Regions from separate parts of the Homo sapiens genome. Here regions 1, 2 and 3 are each linked to region 4. Evidence: promoter capture Hi-C in 16 types of primary human blood cells and fetal thymus (Javierre and others, 2016). All regions are on one chromosome and are shown on one strand. Each heading gives the region's core, a stretch centred on a gene start or on the middle of the fragment in contact. The rest is flanking DNA. Distances are from core to core; before and after follow the strand shown.

The links. The method cuts DNA at HindIII sites, captures the fragments that hold promoters and counts their contacts. A CHiCAGO score of 5 or more calls a contact.
Region 1: a fragment that was not itself captured here is called in contact with the fragment with the promoter of CCT8 in region 4 in 1 of 17 cell types (monocytes); the score reaches 7.4 in monocytes.
Region 2: a contact is called between a fragment that was not itself captured here and the fragment with the promoter of CCT8 in region 4, in 4 of 17 cell types (naive CD4 T cells, erythroblasts, M0 macrophages and 1 more). The highest score is 6.4, in naive CD4 T cells.
Region 3: a contact is called between a fragment that was not itself captured here and the fragment with the promoter of CCT8 in region 4, in 1 of 17 cell types (M0 macrophages). The highest score is 6.0, in M0 macrophages.

Annotation. Positions count from the first base shown.
Region 1 is chr21:29,815,880-29,818,585 of GRCh38, forward strand. All of the region lies in intron 1 of GRIK1 (glutamate ionotropic receptor kainate type subunit 1), which reads right to left. Among named protein-coding and RNA genes, the nearest start is that of GRIK1-AS1, 69 kb to the left of the region's middle. The HindIII fragment of the contact is 4,266 bases long and covers 1-2,706 here.
Region 2 is chr21:29,851,739-29,854,657 of GRCh38, forward strand. All of the region lies in intron 1 of GRIK1 (glutamate ionotropic receptor kainate type subunit 1), which reads right to left. Among named protein-coding and RNA genes, the nearest start is that of GRIK1, 87 kb to the right of the region's middle. The HindIII fragment of the contact is 225 bases long and covers 1,235-1,459 here.
Region 3 is chr21:29,661,058-29,664,007 of GRCh38, forward strand. All of the region lies in intron 4 of GRIK1 (glutamate ionotropic receptor kainate type subunit 1), which reads right to left. Among named protein-coding and RNA genes, the nearest start is that of GRIK1-AS3, 5.1 kb to the left of the region's middle. The HindIII fragment of the contact is 461 bases long and covers 1,041-1,501 here.
Region 4 is chr21:29,072,392-29,075,135 of GRCh38, forward strand. CCT8 (chaperonin containing TCP1 subunit 8) reads right to left here and starts at 1,257. Exons shown (of 15, transcript NM_006585.4): 1 at 1,140-1,257. The coding sequence starts at 1,199. RefSeq lists enhancers at 329-1,240, 693-862, 1,241-2,152, 1,313-1,482. The HindIII fragment of the contact is 10,437 bases long and covers 1-2,744 here.

The DNA.
Region 1 (2,706 bases), core at 5-2,504, 740 kb after region 4:
ACTGGTCTAGGCAAAAATATTATGGCTAAGATTGCAAAAGCAATGACAACAAAAACAAAAGTAGACAAATGAGACCATATTAAACAAAAAAACTGCACAGTAAAGGAAATAATCAACAGAGTGAAGAGACAATCTATTGATGGGAAAAAATACCTGCCAACTATTCATCTGACAAAGGACTGTATCCAGAATACACAAGGAAGATGACTCAACACCAAAAAAGCCCAAAATAATCCCATTAAAATGTGGGCAAAGGATACGAATAGATATTTCTCAAAAGAAGACAGACAAACGGCCAACAGGTATATGAAAAATATAATCAACATAATTAATTATTAGGAAAATACTAATCAAAACCACAATGAGATATCATCTTACTGCAATTAGAATGGCTATCATCAAAAAGACAAAAAATAGCAAATACTGATGAGGATGAGGAGAAAGGGGAATTTTTATACACTGTTGGTGGGAATGCAAATTAGCATAACCATTATAGAAAACAGTATAGCGATTTCTCAACAAATTAAAAATAAAAATACCACACAATCCATCAATCTCACTACCAGGTATTTATCCAAAGGAAAGGAAATCAGCATGTCACCTGCACTTCCTAGTTTATTGCAGCACTATTCACAATAACCAAGATATGGAATCAACCCTCAGTGTCCAACAACAGATTAATGGGTAAATAAAATGTGGTATATATACACAGTGTAATACTATTCAGCCATAAATAAAGAATGAAATCCTGTCATTTGCAGCAACATGGATAGAACTGGAGGTCATTATGTTAAGTAAAATAAGCCAAGCACAGAAAGTCAAACATTGCATGTTCTCACTTATATGTGGGAGCTAAGAAAGTCAATCCCATAGACAAAGAGAGTAGAATGAGAGTTACCAGAGACTGGGAAGGGAAGTGTGGAATGAAGAGAGGTTGATTAATGGGTACAAACATACAGTTGAATAGAAAGAGTAAGTTCTAGTGTTTGATAGCAGAGTAGGGTGACTATAGTTAACAACAATGTACTGTATATTTCAAAATAGTTAGAAAATATGAAATGTTACCAACACAAAGAAACAATAAAGTTTGATGTGATAGATATTCTAAATATGCTGATTTGATCATTACGTATTGCATGCATGCATCAAAATATCAGATGTACCCCACCAAATATTCACACTTATTACGTATCAATAAAAAAATGATAATCTGGACACAGCTTGTGCCAGAGTAAAGAAATGCTCAAAGAAGAATGGGGACACATTGGAAGGGCACAGGAGCCAACTTAAAGCAACTCTATCTGGTCAGATTTGGTACAATTTGTGCATCAAAAGAGTAATAACTGTATTATAAGATGTTGCATGAATAAAAGTTCATGAGTACATAAAACTACTCATAAAAGAAAAAATAATTATAGAGTGAAAAATTATAGATATTGAAATTGATTAAAGTACAGCGTCTTTTAAATCCCCATTACCATCAAAAGCGAAAACAAATTAAAATTTTGTGATTTCATGATCATTACTTAATAATAGTAAATTGTTAGTATGTATAATGCATTATTGTTCCTAACCATTCACTGCCTTGCAAGAGGTAGAACATACTTTACTGTTTCAATAGTGCTGGGCTTGGCCATGTGACTTTTTGATCAATGGCAGGTAGTGACAATACACTGCTTCTAAGAAGACACCTGAGTCATCTTGGTATTGCCCCTTTCTCGAGCTGCTGTCTTCCTCTATGCCAGCAGCGCACCCTAGAGAATGGTTACACATTCATAGGGGTCATGTGGAAACCAACTGGACCAAGCCAAACCTGGCAAAATCACAGCAGACCTGCAGCCACCATGAAATGGGATCAATAAATTAATGTTTGCTTTTGCAAATCGCTGGTATTTAAGGGTTGTTTGTTGCTGCAGCAAAAGTTGAATAATAAATACAGAGTCATTTATACAGAACCTGTTATGTGCCCAATATGAGAAAATACGCTTAATGCATACCCAACCCAATATTTAGTTGGCTACGCATTAAACATACTCCCTCATTTTGTCCTCTCCCTATTCCTATGGGTTAGGCACGATTATTCCTATTTGGCAGATGAGTGACAGAGTAAAAATTGTTGAATAATTTGCTACATAACTTATTAGGGATCAGTTAGGTATTCAACTCAGGACCATTTAACTCCAAAGTCTGGAGTCTTAGACAACATGGTGTACTGCATTCTAAGGATGGAAATTTAGGGAAAACCCTATGTTGACTTTAAAGTGAAATATGGGTGAATCCCAGCCATTCCATATATTTCAACCATGTAAAACAACGCACATTATATTGTCTGGCCAAATCCAAAGTAAATAATAAATGTTGACAGACAAAAAAAATTTCTGGGAGCAAACCTTTTGAGAAACAGAATTTACTTAGGTGACTCAGACATATCAAAAATCACACTGAATCAATCCCAAATGATGTACATTCTCACGAAGGAAAGGAGCCAGATTTTTAGTCTAACTCTTCTAGATTCTTAGCCCTGTCTCCATGGCCCTTTCTACATAAATCCTGGCCTTAAGAAAGGCTTCTGGGCCTCCTTGACTTTCTCTTCCTATCCCAGCTTTGACGATTTCTCTCCATTTGAGAAATGAATAATTCAGAATTAGAAACCCTACTTGAGTCCCACCACTCCCCAGCCTCCCAGCTTGCTCATATCCTCATTAT
Region 2 (2,919 bases), core at 97-2,596, 780 kb after region 4:
GCTACTTAAACATTTCCAAGAAGAGCGTCTTTAGCACTGACTTCTCTTCTGAACTGGTGATCTCTAATTGCAACATAAATCTTGATGTCACCCCTTGGACGAAATGTCCTGTCTTCAATACATGTTGTTTAGAATCAAACATATTATCTGTTTCCCCAAATCTGCACTGACTCCTGGTATACTGGTTTCTCTTAAAGACACTACCATTCCGTTCACTTACTTAGATGTGACATATCAGTGCCATCTTTGATCCTTCTCCCTGATTTCTTACCTCTATGGAAAAATTTTCAAGTCTGACTATTTCTCCTTCCACAGTTTCTCACATTTCTTCCCACCCCTCCATTCCCATTGTCAGCACTAAGTTCACAGTTGTCTCTGATGTCAGCCTCAGCTCACATCTCTTTTGTTCTTGAAGGATTTTCCTTAATGCTGCTTTGTCACTTCTTTCTTCCTTCTACCTTGATGCTTGACATTCAAATTATTTAGGAATCTGACCCTACTTAAATAGTTAGTTCTCTCCCACAGAGCACTTTTCACTTTCCTTGCGCTTAAATGCAAATAGTGACTGTTACTATTCACATCTGAGTAACTTGGGCACCTCTACCCACTGTTCCTCCTACCAAGAAGGCCCCCTACCTGTAGAAATTCTATACATTTCCCAAAATTCAGACTAAAATCTATGTACTCTGCAGACTTCCTTCATCCTGCAACTTCCAGCTAAACTTCAATGGCCCCTTATCAGTTCCACTTCCTACCTCCATTCTCTGTACATCTTGTCTCTCTTACTAGACTGGAAGATACTCGAGTGCACTACTGATATTTTCTTCCTAGTGGGCACATTGTAGGCAGTAAATAAATGTGGCCTGAAAGCTGAAGCAAATGAAGGAACAGCCACATAAATATGCAAGTCATTTAGGAAACTTTACATTTATCAAAATGTTTTTCAAGTGGTGAATGCTTTACACAAAGTAAAGTGTTATGTTATTTCATTATGATATAGGAGAATATTTTCTTATGTCAGTTTGAGGAATAATTTTTTCCATCTTGGCACTTGTGTCAAATTACTACATTTCAAAGTTAGATTTGAAATTGCAGTAGGGATATATTTTTATTTTAGTGCTTCTTTAAGTTATAAAGCTTCCCTGATAAATATACCAAATTTATCAATAAACTATGTAGAGTGTCTAGATAAAAACCTTTTGGTAATGTAATTCATTCTGATCTTATATCCCAAAGCTTTAAGATTTGCATAAAATCAACATATCTTCTCACTCTTAAAGTACTATTTTGTGTCATTCTAAAAGTAGTGAAAATATTCTTTTATATAAAAGGAATTGTAGCCTCACTGAACAATTTAAGTAAACCACTTTTCTTCATTCTCTACTGGCAAAATATTTTATGTTATCTTTAACACTCTCACAATTCCAAGAAAGTAACTATGACATTTGTGCCATAATGAAGCTTCCTCTCAAGTAAGTAAAGGCTCAATACTTGAAAGAAAAGTCTTAACATTTACATAGCAGTACAGGGGTTCTCAACCTCAGCACTATTGACATTTTGGTTCTGATTTTTTGTTGTTGTTGACTGTTCCGTACATCGTAGGATATGTGGCAGCACCCTTGGCCAAGAATGACTTCTGATGTGACTAAGAACTAAGTGACTTAGTCCTCCAGCTACCTTTTGAATTCAAAAGTCAATTCTGAAAGTCTGTTTATTAGGAAGCCAAGTATCTCTTAGTACTCAGATATCTCTTGGGGGCAAAATTGCCTCCAGTGGAGAATCATTTCAGTAGTAAAAGTATTTACTAATTCTACTTACTGTGTTTTTATAAATTAATCTCCCCAATCTAGCTTTTTGGAGAAAAATAGGCCAACTATGCTTTCCTCTAGTCAACTGCATATGACTCATGGGAATGTCTGATTTCCTCCATTTATTAGCATATTGATAGCAAACTCTTCAGGAGCATTCACCAAATCAACGTGTATTAAATATCCATTCTGCATTGGGAAAATAGATGAAAGAAACACAGACCAAAACCCCTGCTTTCCTGAAGTTTACATACTAGTGGAAGAAGCAAGACAATAAACAAACATATAAAGGAAACATATAGCATGTCAGAGGGAGATAAGTTTAAGGCAAAAATTAGAAGAACAGTAAAAAGAATAGGTGATGCTGTGTAAGCAGCATGGGTGGGTCACAATTTTAAATAGGATGGCCAGGGTTGTCCTCACTGCCCCCATGACATCTGAGCAAAGGCCTGAAGGAAGTCAGTAGTGAGCGGCCTAGTCCATCTGTGTTGCTATACAGGAATACCTAATGCTGAGTAATTTATATAAGTTTATTTAGCTCACGGTTCTGCAGGCTGTACAAGAAGCATGATGCCTTCTGGTGAGGGTCTCAGGGAGCTTCCACTTGTGGTAGAAGGGGAAGGGGAGCTGCATCACATGGCAAGAGAGGAGGAAAGAGAGAGAGAGAAGCGAGTGGGGCTGCGCTGTTTTAAATAACCAGCTCTCACATAAACTAATAGAGCAAGAATGTACTCTTTGCTTTGGTGATAGCACCAAGCTATTCATGAGATATTTGTTCCCATGACCCAAACACCCCCCCACCAAGCCCCACCTCCAACATTTGGGATCAGACTTCAACATGAGATTTGGAGGGGACAAATATCCAAATGATATCAGGGAGTGAGCTTTCAAACACTTGGCAGATGAGCTTTCCAGGTAGAGGGAAGAGAGGCCTTGAAGAAATAGCCTGCCAAAAATAATGAGAAAAAAAAACAAGAAATTACTATGCCTGGAATGGACTTGGGTGGGGGAATGAGGTAGACAAAATTCCCAGAGAATGGAGGCACACATGAAGATCATATAAGCCCCTTTGGTCATTATAAACAGTGAATAAATGACTGTCAGGAAATAT
Region 3 (2,950 bases), core at 21-2,520, 590 kb after region 4:
GCAATTTTTAATGGTGGTCATCAGTAGAACAAGATGGATATAAGACAGTCTTTAGACCAGTGTTTATTGCTATAGAAAGTACATTCATGCCACATTGAATGATTATAGCTTACATCTACAAAAGTAATAGTGGAATATACAGAAAATAGCATTTGACACCAGAAAAATCCTGATATACAGAAAGATATCCATCTACTTATGGAGGGGACCAAATAATGGTTCTCTAAAGATGTCTACGTCCTAATTCCAGAACCAATGGAATATGTTCCTTTACCTGGAGATGGATTTTACAGATGTGAATAAATGAAAGATTTTGAGATGGGGAGATTTCTCTGAATTATCTAGGTAGGCCCAATGTAGTCACAATGAAAACAGCAGGGTCTTAAGGCAGAGAAGGTGTAAATGGGAATGCGTAAATAGAAGGAGAGAGAAAGATGGAGTGTGATGCGGGGCCACAAGACAAGGAATGAGGACGGCCTCTGTGAGTAAGAAAAGGCAAGAAGTTGGATTTTCCCCAGAAGTTTCCAAAAGGAAAGCAGACCTGCTAACAACATGATTTTAGATCTCTGATTTCTGTAACTGTAAACAAATATATTGTTAAAGCCACTAAATTTGGCTTAAACAGCAATAGAAAACCAATACATCTCATTTTCTCATCTTTCTGTGATTATGGCATATGAAATCGCTGTAACCCTAACTCCAGTGATTGGTACATTACTCCAGCTTTGGTAACGTCAAAAACATGTATCAAGAGGAAAAATTGACTTTTTTCATTTGAGGTTGACAACTTGCTAAGTTCCTCTGTTTCCCTCCATTCACTTACACGTGTTAACCACATGCATGTACACAGGTGATAAGCTAACCACAAGTCTAGGGTTTTTCCTTGGATTTGAAAACTGTGCTATATGATGTATAAATCCAGCCCCTTTTTCTCCTACCTCCAAGTTAAACTAAAGAAAAGCAAAAGATATTCCACAAAGAGTTGATGAATTAAATAACTGTACTATTTGGAAGTTCTTCTCAGTGTTAACTCCTTTATAAGCTTCTCTCCTTAGAGGTATGGTCTGCAGGAGAAAGGAAGCTCATACTAATAGATATTAATAAAAGGAGTGCAAATCATTGGGGTTTAGTTTAGCTTGGAAGATGATCCTACTAGAAGAGCCAGATTGCATCACCCAGGTGCACAACAGATGAGATTATGCTATTTAAGGAGTGCAGACTGTTGAGAACAGAGCAGGAAAAGAAGTTTTCCCATGGCAGAATGAAATAGGCAATCTGGTAAACAGGAGAGAATGGAACTTTTGGGGCAATTACATGAAACTAAAAAATAACCTCTCTGCAACATCTAGGGAAAATTGGTGGAAAGATGATATGTAAGAGAGAATACGGAGGAAACAAATTTTAACAGCAAATTATTGAACAAAATCTAGAAGCTGGAAGGTAACAGAATATTTTGAATTATTATCTACCCCAGATGATTCAGTGTAATCTTTTTGCAACAAGCTTCTTTGATAATGATGTTAATGAAAACTATACCTCAAATTTGCTTGAAAGTCACCTTTTGAAGGAGAGACAGGGGTGCAGCCATTAAATGGTGATCTTGCTGGTCTCACGAGATCTCTATTGCCCAGTAAAGTCTTCATGAGTCTGGGGCCTGATCTTCAGCTTTTTGGGTGACTTGACTTTGTTAATTTATCTGAAAACTATCAGGCTTAAAAAATAATTTATATCAGTGTTTCTTAGTATATTATTAGAACCACCAAGAAACTTCTCCAAAATACCAATGCCTGAGCCTCATTCCTAAATATTCTGATTTATTTTGTCTGGGATATGTTTCAGGCATTGATAGTTACTAAAAACTCCCCAGGTGATACTTATGTACAGCCAGTGCTGAGAACCACTGATTTATATTAACCAAGCTCATATTTTTAAGCTACAACAATAATATTCACAGCGACTGCTTGCTGAGTGCCACAACACGATGTTCACTACAGTAATAGGTTATTGACATTTAATTGGAGAGGAAGTGTTATTCCTAATTTATAGATTTTAGAGATAAAGCATAGTTATAGTATTTGAACCCAGGTTTGATTTCAATCTTGGGATCTTAGGACTTTATTAATTTCTTAATTGATAATAGGAGGTGCAAGTGGCAGGAAAATTAATAATTTGCACAAAATTCTGCTGGAGTTTGAGATCCCAAATAAAAGCATATGGTTATTTAAGACCAAAGTTAGAACCACAGGAGTCAAAGCTTTATCTTAAGTAGGATGCATCAATCCACCTGCCAGAGTTTGTTAAGTTTCCTGTCTACCCGTGAGGGAGCCTCCTGTATAAATGCTGGACTCAGCTGTGAAAGGCCCTTGGATGATGTTCCAGGGACTAGGAGGTGCTTAACTCACAGTTCTTCTTCTGTAAGAATTCAGACCTACCTTGATCTCCTATTATGACATCCCTGGAGATATTAGAATTAATTAGATACAGCTTTTCTTGTGATTTTGAATCCCTTTAGGTCACATTTGGAAAGAACTTTAATCTCCTTAATGGAGTAAGAAAGGATAGTTTCTAAAATTTGTAACAGATTTTTTTTGGCTAAAAGGGTATATTAGACATAATAGATATTTTTGCAATACATGTTATAATGACAGTGGGGACAGATGTGGAGAGCTCTGCATGGCCTGCTAAGAAATGTGTCCTTTATTCTTAATGCAACATCCAGGGTGGAGAGGGTGGCACTCAGCAATTTCAAACATGGAGGTATAAAATCAGATGTTTTACTCAGAATGAATAGTGTTTTAGACTATGCAGAGGATGGTTAGGAAATAGGAGGGGAAAGGAACTTGTGGCAGAGAGATCAATTATATTAGTGGAGAAGGAAGATGATGAGAGATAGAGAAAAGGAGATTGAATCTGAAACATATTCCGAGGGCAGAATCTCCACTGTTTGCTA
Region 4 (2,744 bases), core at 7-2,506:
AAAACTACTAGCACTGGAATGACAAATAATGTTTTGTGATACACGAGTTTTCCAAAACTGTATTAGTGAAAAAAACCCAAATTGGAAGCTATTATCTCAGCCTGATTTTTTCAAGGGAATCAGCCCATATCATTTTCAAAAGATTATTCCACCAACATTTACCTTGAACCCTGACATTTACTTACTATACCGACATTATTTGAAAAGTGCATCCTACAAACATGAACCTAGTTCTATTAAACTGTTAATGCTCCCCGTACCTCGCATAAAACCTTAAATTCAACCACACTGATCTATTTCTTGAATTAACAAAATCTGGAGGACACACAGAGGAATGCAATTTGAATAGCACAAGAGACAAATTTATCAATAGTGCAGTAAGATATTTTTTAAAACTATGCTACCGAACTAACGTTCAAGAAAAGGCCATTAAACAAAAGTGTTATCTGCACCCCTCTATCACTTATCCTGCAGATTACACAGAACTCAAAGACACCACCTCTTGGTCCAATCTCCATAATTTAAAGACGAAGGAAACAAAACCCAAGAAAGTTACATTTTAGATTAAGCCAGCTAACATAAGTTGGGACCGGAACTCATTTGGCTACAACGCATGGCTTCTGTCAACTAAGCTGAAAGCCGTATGTTTCTCACTGGGAAGCAAGCAACCAAGACCCGGCCCTTTTTCCCACTCTCTTCTCTGGATCGGCTAGTTCTCGTTCTTCCCCATCCTACAACTCGCGAGCTATGTGATAATCGACGTCGCAGTTCTCAAGACAATTTCATCTACGTTATTCAATTTCACCCTCACAACCTCCTTTAAGGGTGACGGGCCTTAGCCCCATTTACGGATGGAGGCAAAACGCACGCGCGGCTTCACATCCGTCCACCTTCAAGGTGTACAATGTCGATCGTGCCGCCGATCCCTCGGCCTTCTCCCGGTCGCGGAAGAAGAGAAGTGCCCGCAGGCTCCGGTGGCCGAGCCCTTCCAAAATCACCTCCCTTTCTGGAATCTTCTCTTCCCCCGGCCGCTGAGCCAGGGCAGCACGCTCAGCCCGTTAGTAGGCCCTCCTACTTCGCCGCGGCCGCCGCAGCCCTATGCTGACGCTCCCACCTCATTCCTTTCCTTCAGCCCTTACTTTCGCTCCCTCCTTGAGCATCTGGGCAAAGCCCGGAGCCTTGGGAACGTGAAGCGCCATGGCCAGCCTGCAGGAAGCAGTTCACGCGACCGCTCGGAAGACCGCGGAGGAAGCGAGGAGCACGCACAGCCTTCTGGGAAAGCAGCGTGGGGCCGCCTCACGCTCTTCCTGGCTCTCCAATTAGCCCACCCTTTCCCTGCCGCCAGGTCTGAAGCATCGCGAGAAGAGCAACCTCTGTGGCCAGAACCAAGCTGACGATCCCCGATCGGGTCGATCGATAGGGCGGGCCCAGGGAGCCCCTCGGGTTTCTGGCTCACGCACGCGCAGACAGCCCAGGCCGTGAGAGGTTGCTCCAGTCTGTGCTCTCTGACCGTAGTCAGTAGTCACGGCGTTAGATTTTTGCGGTTTTTGATCTGGAAGCCACACATCCTTAGCTTAATTTCCACGTATCTTCCAGACCCAGCCACCAACGTCAGGGCAGGTGTGCTTTTTTTTTCCCGAGGCAGAGCATCTGCCCCATCCCCCAAAATTGTCTCTAGGCGTCCGCTCTGTGTTGGGCACCATAGGAAGCGCTGGGAATGCGCACGATAATTAAAGTCGTCACTAAGAGTAATGTAGTACACATCAAGTGCTCAAGTGTGCCATATTCTGTGTGATCTGCTTTACATGCAGTATCTCTGTTAATGGTCAGTCTTAAAAATTAATGAATTGTCGGTTAAAATACCATTTAGTTTTCCTTCCATAAAATGGAGACGATACCATTAAAAATTAAAAATTAAATGGTACTGTCTCTATTTTGTAGAAGGGAAACTGAAGTTCACAAACTGTAAATAATTTTCCCAAGATCACAGAGCTAGTAAATATTAAAGCTAGAATTCCTATCTAGATCAGACTTATTGCAAAATGCCGGTTCTTAACCACTATCTATATTCCTCTTTTCTACTTCTTCCTGGGAATATAAATCCCTTTTACTCTTTTAAGATCAGATATAAATACATATTTATTTATCTGATTTATATATATAATATACACATTTTATATAAATATATCTGATTTATATATGAATTTATAGATAAATATAAATCCCTTTGGCTTGGTGGCATGCACCTGTAGTCTCAGCTGCTTGGGAGGCTAAGGTTGGAGGATCTGCTTGAGCCTGGGAGGTTGAGGCAGCAGTGAGCTGAGATCATGCCACTGCACTCCAGCCTGGGCAAGAGTGAGGCCCTGTCTCAAAAAAAAAAAAAAATTGCAAAAATGTAAATGCCACTGATATGGTTTGGATTTTTGCAAAAATGTAAATGCCACTGATATGTTTGAATTGCCTGCCCAAATATGATGTGGAATTATAATCCCCAGCTGTTCTTGTGATAGTGAGTGACTTCTCATAAGACCTGGTTGTTTAAAAGTGTGTGGCACCTCCCCACTCTGTCTCTTCCTCCTCCTCCAGCCTTGTAGGATGTGTCTGCTTCCCCTTCACCTTCCACCTTGATTGTCAGCTTCCTGAGGCTTCCCCAGCCATGCTTCCTGTACCGCCTGTGGAACTGTGAGCCAATTAAACCTCTTTTCTTTATAAATTACCCAGTCTCAGGTAGTTCTTTATAGCGA